4 separate regions of the Homo sapiens genome follow, and regions 1, 2 and 3 are each linked to region 4. Evidence: promoter capture Hi-C in human tissues and cell types (Jung and others, 2019). All regions are on one chromosome and are shown on one strand. Each heading gives the region's core, a stretch centred on a gene start or on the middle of the fragment in contact. The rest is flanking DNA. Distances are from core to core; before and after follow the strand shown. Region 1 overlaps RCOR3 (REST corepressor 3). Region 2 has its middle 9.8 kb from the start of RCOR3. Region 3 overlaps NEK2 (NIMA related kinase 2). Region 4 holds the start of RD3 (RD3 regulator of GUCY2D).

Evidence for each region. Contacts are between HindIII fragments. The study calls those that stand out against the background at their distance.
Region 1: a fragment that was not itself captured here is called in contact with the fragment with the promoter of RD3 in region 4 in 2 of the 25 tissues and cell types used here (mesenchymal stem cells and spleen).
Region 2: a contact is called between a fragment that was not itself captured here and the fragment with the promoter of RD3 in region 4, in 1 of the 25 tissues and cell types used here (spleen).
Region 3: a contact is called between a fragment that was not itself captured here and the fragment with the promoter of RD3 in region 4, in 1 of the 25 tissues and cell types used here (aorta).

What each region holds. Positions count from the first base shown.
Region 1 is chr1:211,291,624-211,294,907 of GRCh38, forward strand. All of the region lies in intron 8 of RCOR3 (REST corepressor 3), which reads left to right. Among named protein-coding and RNA genes, the nearest start is that of TRAF5, 34 kb to the right of the region's middle. The HindIII fragment of the contact is 4,612 bases long and covers 1-3,284 here.
Region 2 is chr1:211,247,927-211,251,256 of GRCh38, forward strand. No RefSeq gene overlaps it. Among named protein-coding and RNA genes, the nearest start is that of RCOR3, 9.8 kb to the right of the region's middle. The HindIII fragment of the contact is 6,428 bases long and covers 1-3,330 here.
Region 3 is chr1:211,661,190-211,664,442 of GRCh38, forward strand. NEK2 (NIMA related kinase 2) reads right to left here. Exons shown (of 8, transcript NM_002497.4): 8 at 1,583-2,463. The coding sequence ends at 2,237. It also overlaps the pseudogene FDPSP8. Among named protein-coding and RNA genes, the nearest start is that of NEK2, 13 kb to the right of the region's middle. The HindIII fragment of the contact is 3,568 bases long and covers 9-3,253 here.
Region 4 is chr1:211,490,170-211,493,589 of GRCh38, forward strand. It overlaps RD3 (RD3 regulator of GUCY2D), which reads right to left and starts at 1,993. Exons shown (of 3, transcript NM_001164688.2): 1 at 1,599-1,993. The HindIII fragment of the contact is 12,360 bases long and covers 1-3,420 here.

The sequences.
Region 1 (3,284 bases), core at 512-3,011, 200 kb before region 4:
GTGGGATCAAGATTCTCTATCTTAAACATGTTCAGATTTTTCTATTCCTTGGTCCTGGTTATTCACCCAAACTGCTTTTCTGGTTCTCTAACATAGGCCACATTTGCTTCCTCTGCTTTCTTACCAAAACTTATTCTCCAACCCTTTCTAATCTAGCTTCTGCCCCGTATGGTATTCCAGTTCTACTGAAACACCTCTCCGAAGATCATTTATGGGCTGACATGGTGGCTCATGCCTGTAATCCCAACACTTTGGGAGGCCAAGACAGGAACATCACTTGAGGCCAGGAGTTTGACACCAGCCTGAGCAACATAGTGAGACTTCATCTCTATAAAAAAAATTTTAAAAATAGCCAAACGTGGTTGTGTGTATCTGTAGTGTAGTCCTAGCAACACAAGAGAGTCTGAGGAGAGAGGATCGCCTGAGCCTAGGAGTTCAAGGTTTACAGTAGAAAAAAAAAATCACTTATGAACAAGTGGCCAACATCTAATGCTGCCTTCCTGGTTTTTAGCTCCTTTGACTACTCAGTAATGTTTGACACTGTCAGCCATGTCTTTCTTTTTGGAATTTCTTTCACTTGACTTTGTGACTCTCTGGAGTATGTGTGTTTATAGTACATATTTAGAAGGCAGCTATCCTCACCACTATACCACCAACGCATCTCATATTTGGTTAAATGCTTAGCCTTTAGTCAAACTATGAATGCAAGATGCCTAACTTCCAAACCACAGCAATCCTCTTTAGAAAACTTCTAAATCATTTGCTGTAATACTTTAAATGCACTAAAAACATAAAGGAATAAAGTGTACTCAGTCACCTGTATTCATACTTCATTCTCAGTACTACTACTCCTACACTTAGGGACTATTTTTATTGATTTTTTTAGAAGGCACTTTAAGCTTTAACTTCCTAACTTGGTTATTCATTTGATGTGTGACACAGTAAAGGTTTGCACTCATGGGTTTACAAATCCTGTTAACCACTGCTACTTTTATGTCACAAACATCTCATATGCAGTGTTCAAACTGAGTTCTTCCACACTCACCATAGTTATCTGTTCCACGTTTTGTATTTTCTGTCTCAGTGAGTAGTGCCACATACTCTCAATTACTGAAGCCAGTGACCAGTTAGCCTCAATTCCCCCTAATTCTCCACAATCAGGTATTTACAAAGATGTCTTGGCCGGGTGCAGTGGCTCATGCCTGTAATCCCAGCACTTTGGAAGGCCGAGGCAGGTGAATCGCGAGGTTAGGAGTTGAAGACCAGCCTGGCCAACATGGTGAAACCCCGTCTCTACTAAAACTACAAAAATTAGCCAGGCATGGTGGCAGGCTCCTGTAATCCCAGCTACTCAGGAGGCTGAGGCAGGAGAATAGCTTGAATCCGGGCTGCAGAGGTTGCAGTGAGCCGAGATCGCGCCACTGCACTCTAGCCTGGGCGACAGAGTGAGACTCTGTCTCCAAAAATAAATAAATAAATAAATAAATAAATAAATAAGTCTTAATTTTGTTTCCAAGGTATTTCTTTAATCTCTGCATACCACTACCATCCTTCCTTCATTCCTACAGTTTTAATGAAAGTTTTCTTAATTATTTATTATTTCTCACCTGGATTGTTAAATTAATTTCCATCCTCTTTACCCTATTTTCTTCTTCACATTACTACCAGAAGTGTCTTTCTAAAAGGCATATATGGTCATTTTGTTCCCTTGCTTAAAAATCCTTTAGGTTTCCTTCAATCTTTAGGCAAAATTAAAATTCCTCGGTCTGGCCCCAGTCTAACTTCTTGCCTTTTCACCTTAGGGCTTTTCTGTCTTCCTAAGCGTTATTCTGCCTGGAATGCAGTCCCTCCTCCCAAGCTTGTCTGCCAGTTTAATTCTTTAAAACTCAGTTTAGCTGTCCTTTTCTTTGGAACACTTTCCCTAATCTTCCCCACCACCTGTTCATCAACATATATAGAAGCACATTTACTCTCTCATTCTCTCTCTTTCTCTCTCCAAGTCTATGTTAGGTGTTTTAGCGTTTATCATAGGTTTATGTTTACTTATCTCCCCACTAGTCTATGAAATCCTCGAGAATTCAGACTTTACATTTTATCTCTGTATGTCTATCTAACATGGCCAGCTGACTACCCTTGAACCATCCTAGATTTTATGCATTTTAGCTGTGGTTTTAAGATCTCTAGTGAAAATAGTTCATAAATTATAAGTATTTCGTTGTCCACACTAGGGGGGAAAAACAGAGGAAAAAAGTAAACAATCCTAACCCTTAACAGTCTAAATGGAGACTAATAATATTGCTAGTAGAGTAAAAGTTAAAAACTTGGTATAGTTTAAATTCAGGTTGTATCTCCTAGCCTTAGGAAGGTTTCTTAACTTCTCTGTGCCTTATATTCCTCATCTGTAAAACTGTTATAATATAAGTAGAGTCTGTTCTGCTATAACTTTTTTTGAAAATGTGGATTTGTCCTAATGCAGTTAATATACTCTGGAAAAATTTGAGCATAACATGAATTTTTTGTTTGTTTATGTATGATTTTTGTCAGCAAAACAAAATGTACCCAGCTGAACTGAGCGCACACACATCTCAAACATGTAGCAGCTACCTCAATTCACTGTATGTTATGAACCATACATATATGGTGTTAAAACTTTTCATCTGATTTCAAGTAACCCTCCTACCACTTGCATAATAATTCACAAACTACAACCATTTTGACTCCCACTTCCATAAGCAACCTTCAGGTTTTTTTTCAAGGTAAAGTACTGTCTTTGTTGTAGCATTTATGGATTAAAAACAAATCATTTAGATTGTGTAAAACTGTGTTGCCATTTTTATTAGGTTCCTGTCTTATGTGTCATTGAAGTTTTTTAATGTTGTGTCCCAACCTCTTTTACCCTACAAGCCCTGTGGTTTTTATTATGAATTTTGCATAGCACACACTGACTTTTCTTTCTTTCTTTCTTTTTTTTTTTTTTTTTTTTTGAGACGGAGTCTCGCTGTGTCGCCCAGGCTGGAGTGCAGCGGCGCGATCTCAGCTCACTGCAAGCTCCACCTCCTGGGTTCACGCCATTCTGCTGCCTCAGCCTCCTGAGTAGCTGGGACTACAGGCGTCCGCCACCACGCCCGGCTAATTTTTTGTATTTTTAGTAGAGACGGGGTTTCACCATGTTAGCCAGGATGGTCTTGATCTCCTGACCTCGTGATCCGCCTGCCTTGGCCTCCGAAAGTGCTGGGATTACAGGCGTGAGCCACCGCACCCAGCCTTTTTTTAAGACAGGGTCT
Region 2 (3,330 bases), core at 534-3,033, 240 kb before region 4:
GATGTTTAGTCTGTAAAAGAAGCTTAAGTGGGACTTGATTGCTGTTTTTAAGTCTTTAAAGAGCTAGTGTGACAGAGATTGCTAGCTGCTTTTCAGTACTCATTTCCTTTGTAGTCCTTAGCAATGGAACCCTGCTTTTTAGTGGGGCACTTTGAAATTTCCCAACCTCCTTTGAGATTAGATGGATCATGTGACTAGGCTGTGGATGTTGATATATCAGCATAAGTGGTTTGCAAGACTGCCGGGAAGTCTCCTTAATGAGAGGGGTGTGCTCTTTGGCTTTTACTCCTTTGTTCTGCTGCATGTAGCAGGGTCCTGACTGGCACTCTAGCAGCTATTCTGGATTGCAAGGGCAAAAGTTATGCTCCAGGAACAGTGGAGGGCAAAATGGAAGAAGTCTGGATTCCTCACCAGTTCATTGCAGTTGTCATGTCAGCCCAATATTGCCTACCTCTGTACGTCTTTTACATGAAAAGAAATAAAATTTCATTTTGTTTAAGACACTGCTGTTTGGGGTTTCTTTTGTATGTAGTTGAACTTTGGGTACAAAAAAAAACACATATGTTTTCTAAGACTTAAACATTTTTATTTTTGGCCAGGCGCGGTGGCTCACGACTGTAATCCCAGCATTTTGGGAGGCCGAGGTGGGCAGATCACAAGGTCAGGAGTTCAAGACCAGCCTGACCAACATGGTGAAACCCTGTCTCTACTAAAAATACAAAAATTAGCCGGCTGTGGTGGCGCATGCCTGTAGTCCCAGCTACTCGGGAGGCTGAGGCAGGAGAATCGCTTGAACCCAGGAGGCGGAGGTTGCAGTGAGCCAAGATCACACCACTGCACTCCAGCCTGGGTGACAGAGCAAGACTCTGTCTAAAAAAAAAAAAAGGACTTAAACATTTTCAAAAATGAAATGATCAGCCGGGCACAGCAGCTCACACAGTGGCTCACACAGTGGAACTTCGGGAGGCCGAGGCAGGCGGATCACCTGAGGTCAGGAGATAGAGACCATCCTGGCTAACATGGCAAAACCCCATCTCTTCTAAAAACACAAAAATTAGCTGGGCGTGGTGGCACACGCCTGTAATCCCAGCTACTCGGGAGGCTGAGGCAGGAGAATCGCTTGAACCTGGGAGGCAGAGGTTGCAGTGAACCGAGATCGCGCCACTGCACTCCAGCCTGGGGGACAAGAGTGAGACTCTGTCTCAAAAAAAAAAAAGAAAGAAAGAAAGAAAGAAAGAAATGATCTACTCTGTGATGCAGTTATCTATCTCTGTATCTGTTTAAATGGAGATATTCAAATGAAGATCTGTTTAAACTTCTAGTTTCAGAAATGGTGACTATTCCAGGAGGTGAAGATAAAGAAGGTTACCAGACCTCTAAAGTTCCTGTCAGCTCTTAAGATTACATGATTTCTCTGGCTGTGGGGATCAGTAGCTCTAAAAAAATTAATTAAAATTAAAAATTTAAAATTTAAAAAATTACAGTTCCTTCTCCCTATTATGTTTGTGTCCAACTTGAGCTGGCTTAATGTTAGGCAGTCCCCTGGCCATGCTGCTCAGGATCACTTGATTCTATTTTGGAGTTAAACTTATTCTAAGACCAACACTTCTAAAGTAATAATTAGGCTGCATGATGTGGGTCACACCTGTAACCCCAGCACTTTGGGAGGCCGAGGAGAGAGGATCACTTGAGGCCAGGTATTTATCAAGACAGGGAAATTGCAATGGAGAAAACGTAATGATCGCAGAGCCAGCAGTGTGGGAGACTGGAATCTTATTATTACTCAAATCAGTCTTTAAAGACAATTTGTGGGGTAGGGGCTTGGGAAGTGGGGAGTGCTGATTGGTCAGGTTGGAGATGTAATCGTAGGGGAGGGCCAAGTGAGTTTTTCTTGCTGTCTTCTGTTCCTAGGTAGGATGGCAGAACTGGTTGAGCCAGATTACCAGTATGGGTGGTGTCAGCTGATCCATCCAGTGCAGGGTCTGCAAAATATCTCAAGCACTGATGTTAGGTTTTACAATAGTGATGTTATCCCCAGGAGCAATTTGGGGAGGTTCAGACTCTTGGAGCCAGAAGCTGCATGGCCCCTAAACCCTAATTTCTAACCTTGTAGCTAATTTGTTAGTCCTGCAAAGGCAGACTGGTCCCCAGGCAAAAAAGGACTATTATCAATTTCGTTTCGGAGTCAAACCATGAACTGAATTCCTTCCCAAAGTTAGTTCCACCTACGCCCACGAATGAACAAGGACAGCTTAAATGTTAGAAGGAAGGTGGAATTGATTAGGTCTGATCTCTTTCACTGTCATAATTTCCTCAGTTATAATGTTTGCAAAGTTGGTTTCAAGACAAGCCTGAGCAACATGCAAGACCCTGTTGCTGCAAAAAAAAAATTTTACAAATTAGCTTGGTGTGGTGGTGCACACCTGTAGTCGTAGCTACTCAGGAAGGAGGCTGAAGCAGGAGGATTGCTTGAGCTTAGGAATTTGGGGTGGTAGTCAACTATGATCATGCCACTGCACGCCAGCCTGGGTGACAGAGCAAGATCCAAGATCAGTCTCAAAAAAAAAAAAAAAAAAGTAATAATGAAGGAAAACCAAAGAACACATCAATGAACTCTTCAGCATAACTAGTAGCATAAAGAAAATCATAATTAACCTGAATAATATGAATAAAACAGGAGTTCAATTGAGGCCTTTCCTACGTGCCTAGTACAGCTGGTGAATCAAGGTATAGTCCACAATGACTACCCTGCTGAATTTTTTTTTTATTTTTTAAAATGAGAATACTAACACCCCATCCTCTTTCCATCTTGCCTCTTCCATTCTACTTTCTAACTTCAATTAGTTATAACTTTACTTTTATGTTAATTTTTTTACTATAAATATCTGTGTTTTGTCTATTAGTTGATTCTTTAAACACTTATTCCTTGAAACAGTAACACCTATACATGGTAAGAGTCCAACCATGCAAAAAAATACAGAGGAAGATAAAGTCCCCCTTTCCATCCCAGACTGTGACACCTCTTCCTCAGAGAGAACCGGTTTTGATGTACTCTTTCAAAAATATTCTGAGGCTGGGTGCGGTGGCTCACACCTGTAATCCCAGCACTTTGGGAGGCCAAGGTGGGAGGATCATCTGAGGTCAGGAGTTCGAGATCAGTCTGGCCAACATGGTGAAACCCCTGTCTCTACTAAAAAAATACAGAAATTAGCCGGGCATGCCAGCTACTCAGAAGGCTGACGCAGCAGAATCACTTGAACCCAGGAGGTGAAGGTTGCAGTGAGCTGAGATTTTATCACTGCACTCCAGACTGGGCAATAAGACTGAAAC
Region 3 (3,253 bases), core at 543-3,042, 170 kb after region 4:
GAAGTGCTGAATGAAATCCTGTTTTTCTTGGGCATAAGCATCTGATTTTTGATCTCCATTCATTCTGAGGGAGGAGCAAAGGGCTCTATTCCTGGATGCGGGTTCCTGCTTCTAAACTGAAGTTTTTGTCATTGCTGTATCTCCTGGCCTATCTACTCATCTAATTTTCTATCAAATGCATTGGGCTGAATGGAAAAAAAACAAACTTTATTGGTAACACTTTGAAATTCACTTTTAGAAGCTTTGATCACACCTAATTCCAAATCTGTTGTTATGGTTTGGGGATTCAATCGAAAGCTATTTTCTTCTGCAAAGTGCAGCAAATCTTCAAATAATTGTTTAAATGACTAGATAAGTTCTAGAATCTTCAGAACCAACAGGGGCATGAATCATGTATAGTTGATAAAAACCAGTAGGGATAGTTTTGAAAGTGCCGTCCACTAGCCAAAATGAAAACATGCGATAGTTTTTCTGTTAGATTTAGTGGTAAATATAAGCAGTCTATCTTCTTCGACAGTCAAATCCCTAACCAAGAACAGTTTGGTTAATGAGTTTTGTAACACTGGAGGAACCTCAGTATCAGCAAGTGTCTTTGGTTCACAAGGTCGTTCAGCTTGTCGAATTTTATTCTCTGACAAAGGGCATTTTTTTAAGGCAAGCGTGGCACTATTCATGAAGGAGCAGAATTTGTACATAACTGAATAATTTGGCAGGAGAGATTTCTTGTACTTTTCACCTGAAAAGTCGCTTTTATGATCTTCAAAACACTAAACATTGAGGAAAGATATTCCCCACCTAGTCTACTGAGACTCACATATTAACCTCCTCTGGAAACACCCTCACAGACACATCTAAAATAATGCTTTACCAGATTTCTAGGGATTCCTTAATCCAGTCAAGTTGACACATAAATCAACAAGTTCACCCCTTATCAACTCGATATCCATCCACATCTCTTAAACCATACTTAATTTCCAAATGAAGACAATAACAAGGTAATAGTTCTGCCTAACATGATGCAATTATCCTGTATACAGCTGAAACGGCACTAATCCCTAACCTCAAATTCGGCTTTCAGGATTTTAACATCTGGGATTTTAATCTTTCAGGATTGTGATTTTGGAAGTTCACACATTAGGGATTCTGATCTTTTGGGATTTAAGACATTAGGGATTTTGGTCTTTCAGGATTTTCGCATTTGAGATTGTATCATTCAGGATTATGATCCAAACCCATGGACATTTTGTTGTCAGCAGCTGTCCTGTGCATTGTAAAATGTTTACAGTGTCCCTGGCCTGTACCCACTAGCAGCCAGTAGCACCCTACCCCAAATCATGACAATCAAAAATGCCCCCAGACATTGCCAAACGTCTCTTGAGGAGCAAAATCACCCTGTTAAGGACCACTGGCTTACATACATGGATTAATGAGATGGGAGGTAAAGCGCCATACAGTTTAGGACTGGAATGCCACTCCCTTGAGCATCAGATCCATGTTTCCTTCTGTACCCTACAATGAAGACCTACAAATCATAAACACAACTCCCATCAACTAAGAGACCAACAAATGCAAGACACATAACTACAGGGAAACTGAAGAATTCTTTTATTTAGTGGGAAAGAAGTAGGTAAATGACAGACAGCTCATATTCTGTTAAACAGAAAAAAAAAAAGAATACAAACATCACAGTGATGAATTTTCACAAAGCTAACAGATTTGAACTACAGAGCAATGGAATATTTATAAGCAAGATGTCATGGTATTAATGACCAAATTGCATCTAACTGGGTTTTCTAAGCTCAAAAACATTTAAAATCTCAGACTTAAAATTTAAATCTAGACATGACAATTGTAAGCATACCACTCAGTCATTTAAAACTATTCAGTGAGTGCTACTCTTCCTGCATAAATATTTTTTTCCTAACATTATTTTTTCTCCCAAGATTTAGAATGTCACATCTCATGTTCCTACTAGTAATCACACACAGGATTAAAAGCCCAACCAAGAAAGTATTCTTTTTATAATATGTTCTTAAAAGAAGAAAGAAAAATTAAATGTGAACATTTTGTACAATAGTTGCTGAAGAACAGTAAAACCAATTCCGAAATATCATGTGTACTATACAGAAAGGCATGGCTCATGGAACCAAGTATTCAACACTACAGCATTTGAATATCAGTCTTTAAAGGTTGGTAATATTACATCCTGTACACAGCTCTGTGTCTCTCTACCTGGCTAGCGCATGCCCAGGATCTGTCTGCTTTTCAGTTGGTAATTTTTCTCAATATCTGACAGGGCTTGAGCCCGCAGCTGGGCAGCGTGAAGCCTTTTCTTCAGGTCCTTGCACTTGGACTTAGATGTGAGCTGACTCTCAGAATTCTCACTCCTCATGATGTTCTCTTTACTTTCCCCACTGAAATGAACTTTCTTCTTAATTACTGAGGATGGAAGATTAAGAAGTTCTTTAGAAGGAAAAAGAAAAAGGGCTCTGAGTTACTTGAACAGAGTTCAACTCCTTCATACTTATACTTATCAAAAAGTATTTGCTCTTATGGCTCACATTTGAAATCTAGGTGCCTGTTTTATTTTCTCTGGGATAGGAGGTTAGGGGTGTAGGACTTGCAGAAATCAGCCTTTTAATCCACAGCATTGAAAAAATAATATTGGAATGTGCCAAAATTCAAGGAACATAAGTTTTATTCTCTTAACAACCAACAATCAATTTTACTCTTAAACACACTGAGTATTATGGACAACATAAAACTTTTGGAAATCAATGTTATTTATCTCTGTCCTTGAAAATAAGTGCCATTCTATGCAGAACACCTTACCTACAGAAAAGTGTAGAAGCAGAGGTTTTTTTCTGTCTTTGTTTTTTTTTTTTTTTTTAAATAGAGAACACCTACAGTTTTGGTTAAATGTTCAAGAACACTTAGTTCAAAGCATCTTAATGGACGAGAAATCTGTTTCCAAAAAATCTAAACAAATTCAGTGTGGAAAAGGTAAATCAAGTAAGAGTAGTAAAAACTGTAAACTATTCTTTACATGGAAAAAATAAATAATAATCATATTTACTTAAAGTGGCAACACTATTAACTGCTGACAGAATTACTGGGGGCTGGAGGCTTACAGATTCTAGAATCCTTTTATTTTTTGTGTTAAAGGAAATATGTTCGAATATTTACTGAGCTCATAGGATGGGCCACTGTGAACCAAACAAAGGCCCTATTCTAGTAGGAGGAGATAAACCAA
Region 4 (3,420 bases), core at 743-3,242:
AGGGATGTCTCAATGGTGGGAACAATGGGGAGTGTGACCTTGGAGCTGGAAGCAGGGCTCTGACCCCCTGCAGGAGGGATGAGAGTGCCCTCACCTCTAGTGAGAACTGAGGCCCTGCGCCGGCCCCAGCCAAACAGTGAGGGCGTGCAGACCTTGCCCAGGAAGGCCAATTTCTCAGTGCAAAGGGAGCCATGGCCAGGGAACCCGGCCCGGGTCCTCCACCTCTGAAGCTGAGCTAGGCATCTGCAGGCCAGGGTGAGGGGCTGCCCTGTGTGACCCGCCGGACCCAGGCATAGAGCAGCACCTGAGTCAGGCTGTCCCAGAGCACTGGCAGCTTCACTGCAGGGGCAGGCTGGCTCTGCTGACGCCAGACGCTCAGTCTGGGCAGAGACTTCTCAGTGGGGGCAGAGAGTAGGTGCTTCTCTGGCTAATCTGCCTCCCAGCTCTGTGTTTGATAAGGCCCAAGTCCAACTTTACAGATTGCAAATTGACCTTATTTCTCTTTGGCATCACAGAAAAACAACCTATAATCCACCAAGCCAGATATGAGCGGGCCTGACCTGTGGATCCTCTGCCCACCTGACAGACATCTGCTCATTTGTCGGGAACCCCTCAAGAGACAACTCCTCCCTGCAGCCGGCCCCTCACTTCCCCCCACCCATGGAGCACTGATCCCAGCCACCAGGGCCTGACACAAGGGCCCATCACCATGGCATCTAGCAAACACGTTTCTCACGCTTTGGGTTGTATTTATCTCTTCCCCACCTAGCTATGAATTCTGCAAGGGCGAGAGGAATGTGGGTTGAATCTGCTGCACATGGTAGCACTTGATAAGCGGTTCCTGAATGAATGAGTGAATGGCAGCCAGTCCTTCCCATTCTGAGGCAGAGGTGCAGCCAGGAGAGGGCGTGTACACAGGTCTGACTGACCACAGTGGGAGGGGACTGACCCTCATCCCTTGGTCGCAGCTGGACTTTCCTTCTAGGCCCGATCTCCCTGGCGCCCCACCCTGCACCCATCTGCCTGGGCCCACTCTCCTGGGCATGTTATCAGGGATGCACAGACTGCTCCATGTTCGAGGGGACTGAGGCACATCCATCACCCTCGTGCCCTGGGTGCTGCTGCATCCCCAGAGCCTGACTCTGTGCCTTGGACTTAGTAGATGCTCGAATCACAGTTCGCAAACCCATGCAAGAGTCTCTGATTTGGGTTTCGCTTTCCTTCCCCCTGCCTGTGTCCACTCTATAAAGGCAGAAAGGAACCTGCTGGAGCTGGGTCCTCCCCGAGAGGCTTGCAGTTCCAGAACAGGCAAAAACAATGGCTTCCCACAGGTTTACAAAACAAGGAGCAGGCTATAGCCCCGAGGAAGCTGCAGGACCCTCATCGGTTCCAACTCCTGTGGAACTGATGAGGACTAAAGGGGCCTTCCTGTGGCCATCTGGGTCCCGGAGGTGGGCGGCTTTCTAGGCTCCCCAGCCTGCCACACCCCTTGAGGCCACCCCACCCAGCTTCAAGCCTCAGCCCTAACTTCCAAAGGTGCAGCTGTGCCAGGGTGCGGGTGGGGAAGACACTGTCTCCTGGGGAGACCTCCATCTTACCTCTGAGGTCAGCCTCTGCTCAGGTGCAGCGTCACAGCAGGGGGCCTGCGTTCTGCTTCCCAGTCTGGGAGAAGAGAGTGTCTGGATATTTTCAGGAAAAAAAAAGAAAGTTGAGCAGCCACAGCAGGGCAGGGCAGTCTACATCCTCAAGTCTCCCTCAGCTTCTCTGCTGCTGCCGGCTGGCCTCAAATTTTGCCTCTCTTTGGTTCTCTGAGAAGTTTTACCAAGAGAAGAGACAGGAGGAGAGATCCAGCCTGGACTATTGTTTGTGGGGTGTGTAGGTGTGTGTGTGTGTGTGTGTGTGTGTGTGTGTGTGTGTGTGTGTATGCGTGTATGTATCCCGCGAGGCTGGAGCCACAGCTTCCCTGATGAACCATGGAGGCGGGCCAGCTCCTGAGCTGCGGTTGCCCTGGAGACCCACCTAAGCCTCTTTGCCTGGAGCAGCATTATCTGTAGAGGGAGTGGCTGATCTGACACAAAAGCCTGAGGCGACCCAGGCCCAGGCAGTGAGGGAGCACTTGTGTCCAGATGGCATTCTGTCCGCTTCCTCCTCCAGCCGGTGCTCAGTGTGGCACAAACTGGGCAAGACCATTCTCACCCAACCCTCTGCTGAGCCCTAGGTGTACCTGCTGTTGGCAAATGTTTCCAGCTGCCTGGTGGGTGGCTCCTGGATGGAGATCCCCTCTTTCTATCAGCTCCCTCCTACAGGGAAGGGGTGATTCTGGGTGCTGAGGACAGGGACCTGTGAAGATACATCTCCGCCTTTGCCCCACCACATCCCTTGCCTGTCTTCCTCTCTGCTTATCTAAATTATTTCCTTCCCTCAAGGCAAGCTCAAGAGCAGACAGTTCTGACTTTCAGAAGGAGGGGCTGTCCAGGGAGAAGAGGAACATGGAACAGAAAGCATTGACGTTGAGGTATTTGAGATAACATTTGGGGATAGCAGAAGCATCCTGTTGCTGTTCTGCAGCATCCCACACTCATGTCTGGGCCTCCTTCCTGTCTCTGCTCTCTGGTCACGCTGTCACTTGTAGACTGTTCTGCCTAGAAGCCATGTGTGGGCCAGCTTGCACCTAACAGACATTAGGTAGCACTAAAACAGATGCACACTGCCCTGTGAGGGGCATGGGAATACTGTAATGGGCATGAAGCTGCATTATAATAGATCTTAGGTAATCCTGTGCTGGGTGATAGCGTGACTTTTGCACACATCTGGTTTTGATTGTGTTGGAAATAAAGCAGAAAGTACAACCAAGAATAAATTAAACAATGGCTGATGAAATGGACTCAGGTTGCCCACCTGCCTGCCTGCATGATTTCGTCCCTGGGTGATTTGTCACTTCGTGCTTGCTCTGTGGCTGGTTCCACTCAGCTGGTTCCATCCGCCTTCCCTCTTCATCCATCAAGCAGGCAAGATTCTTGAGTCAGGAGTTGGATCATATACTTCTCTTGACCAGTTCACAGCACGACAGCCCCAAAGATTGAGTGGGTCACTTGGGGATGGAAGATCCCCACATTTGAGGGAGCTGAAGCTGACTTCCTCTGACCCACAGTTCCCAGGCGGCCTCCACCTCAGGGCCAGCTAAGGCCAGAGTCACCCAAAGCAGGTAACTGGGAGTCCCCACCTCTGAGCACCCCACCACTATCCTGGCACTTTCCCAAGGGGCGTGGCTTGGAGGTCCAAGGGCAGAAATTCCCAGGCATTTCCACACTGTAGGGAAGGGAGCAGGGGGATGACAAGACTTTACCTTCCCTTTAGGAAAGTTGCTGGAGGCAATGAGGAGAGGAGGGCATGGACTAAGTCACATGCTCATCTGTGCAG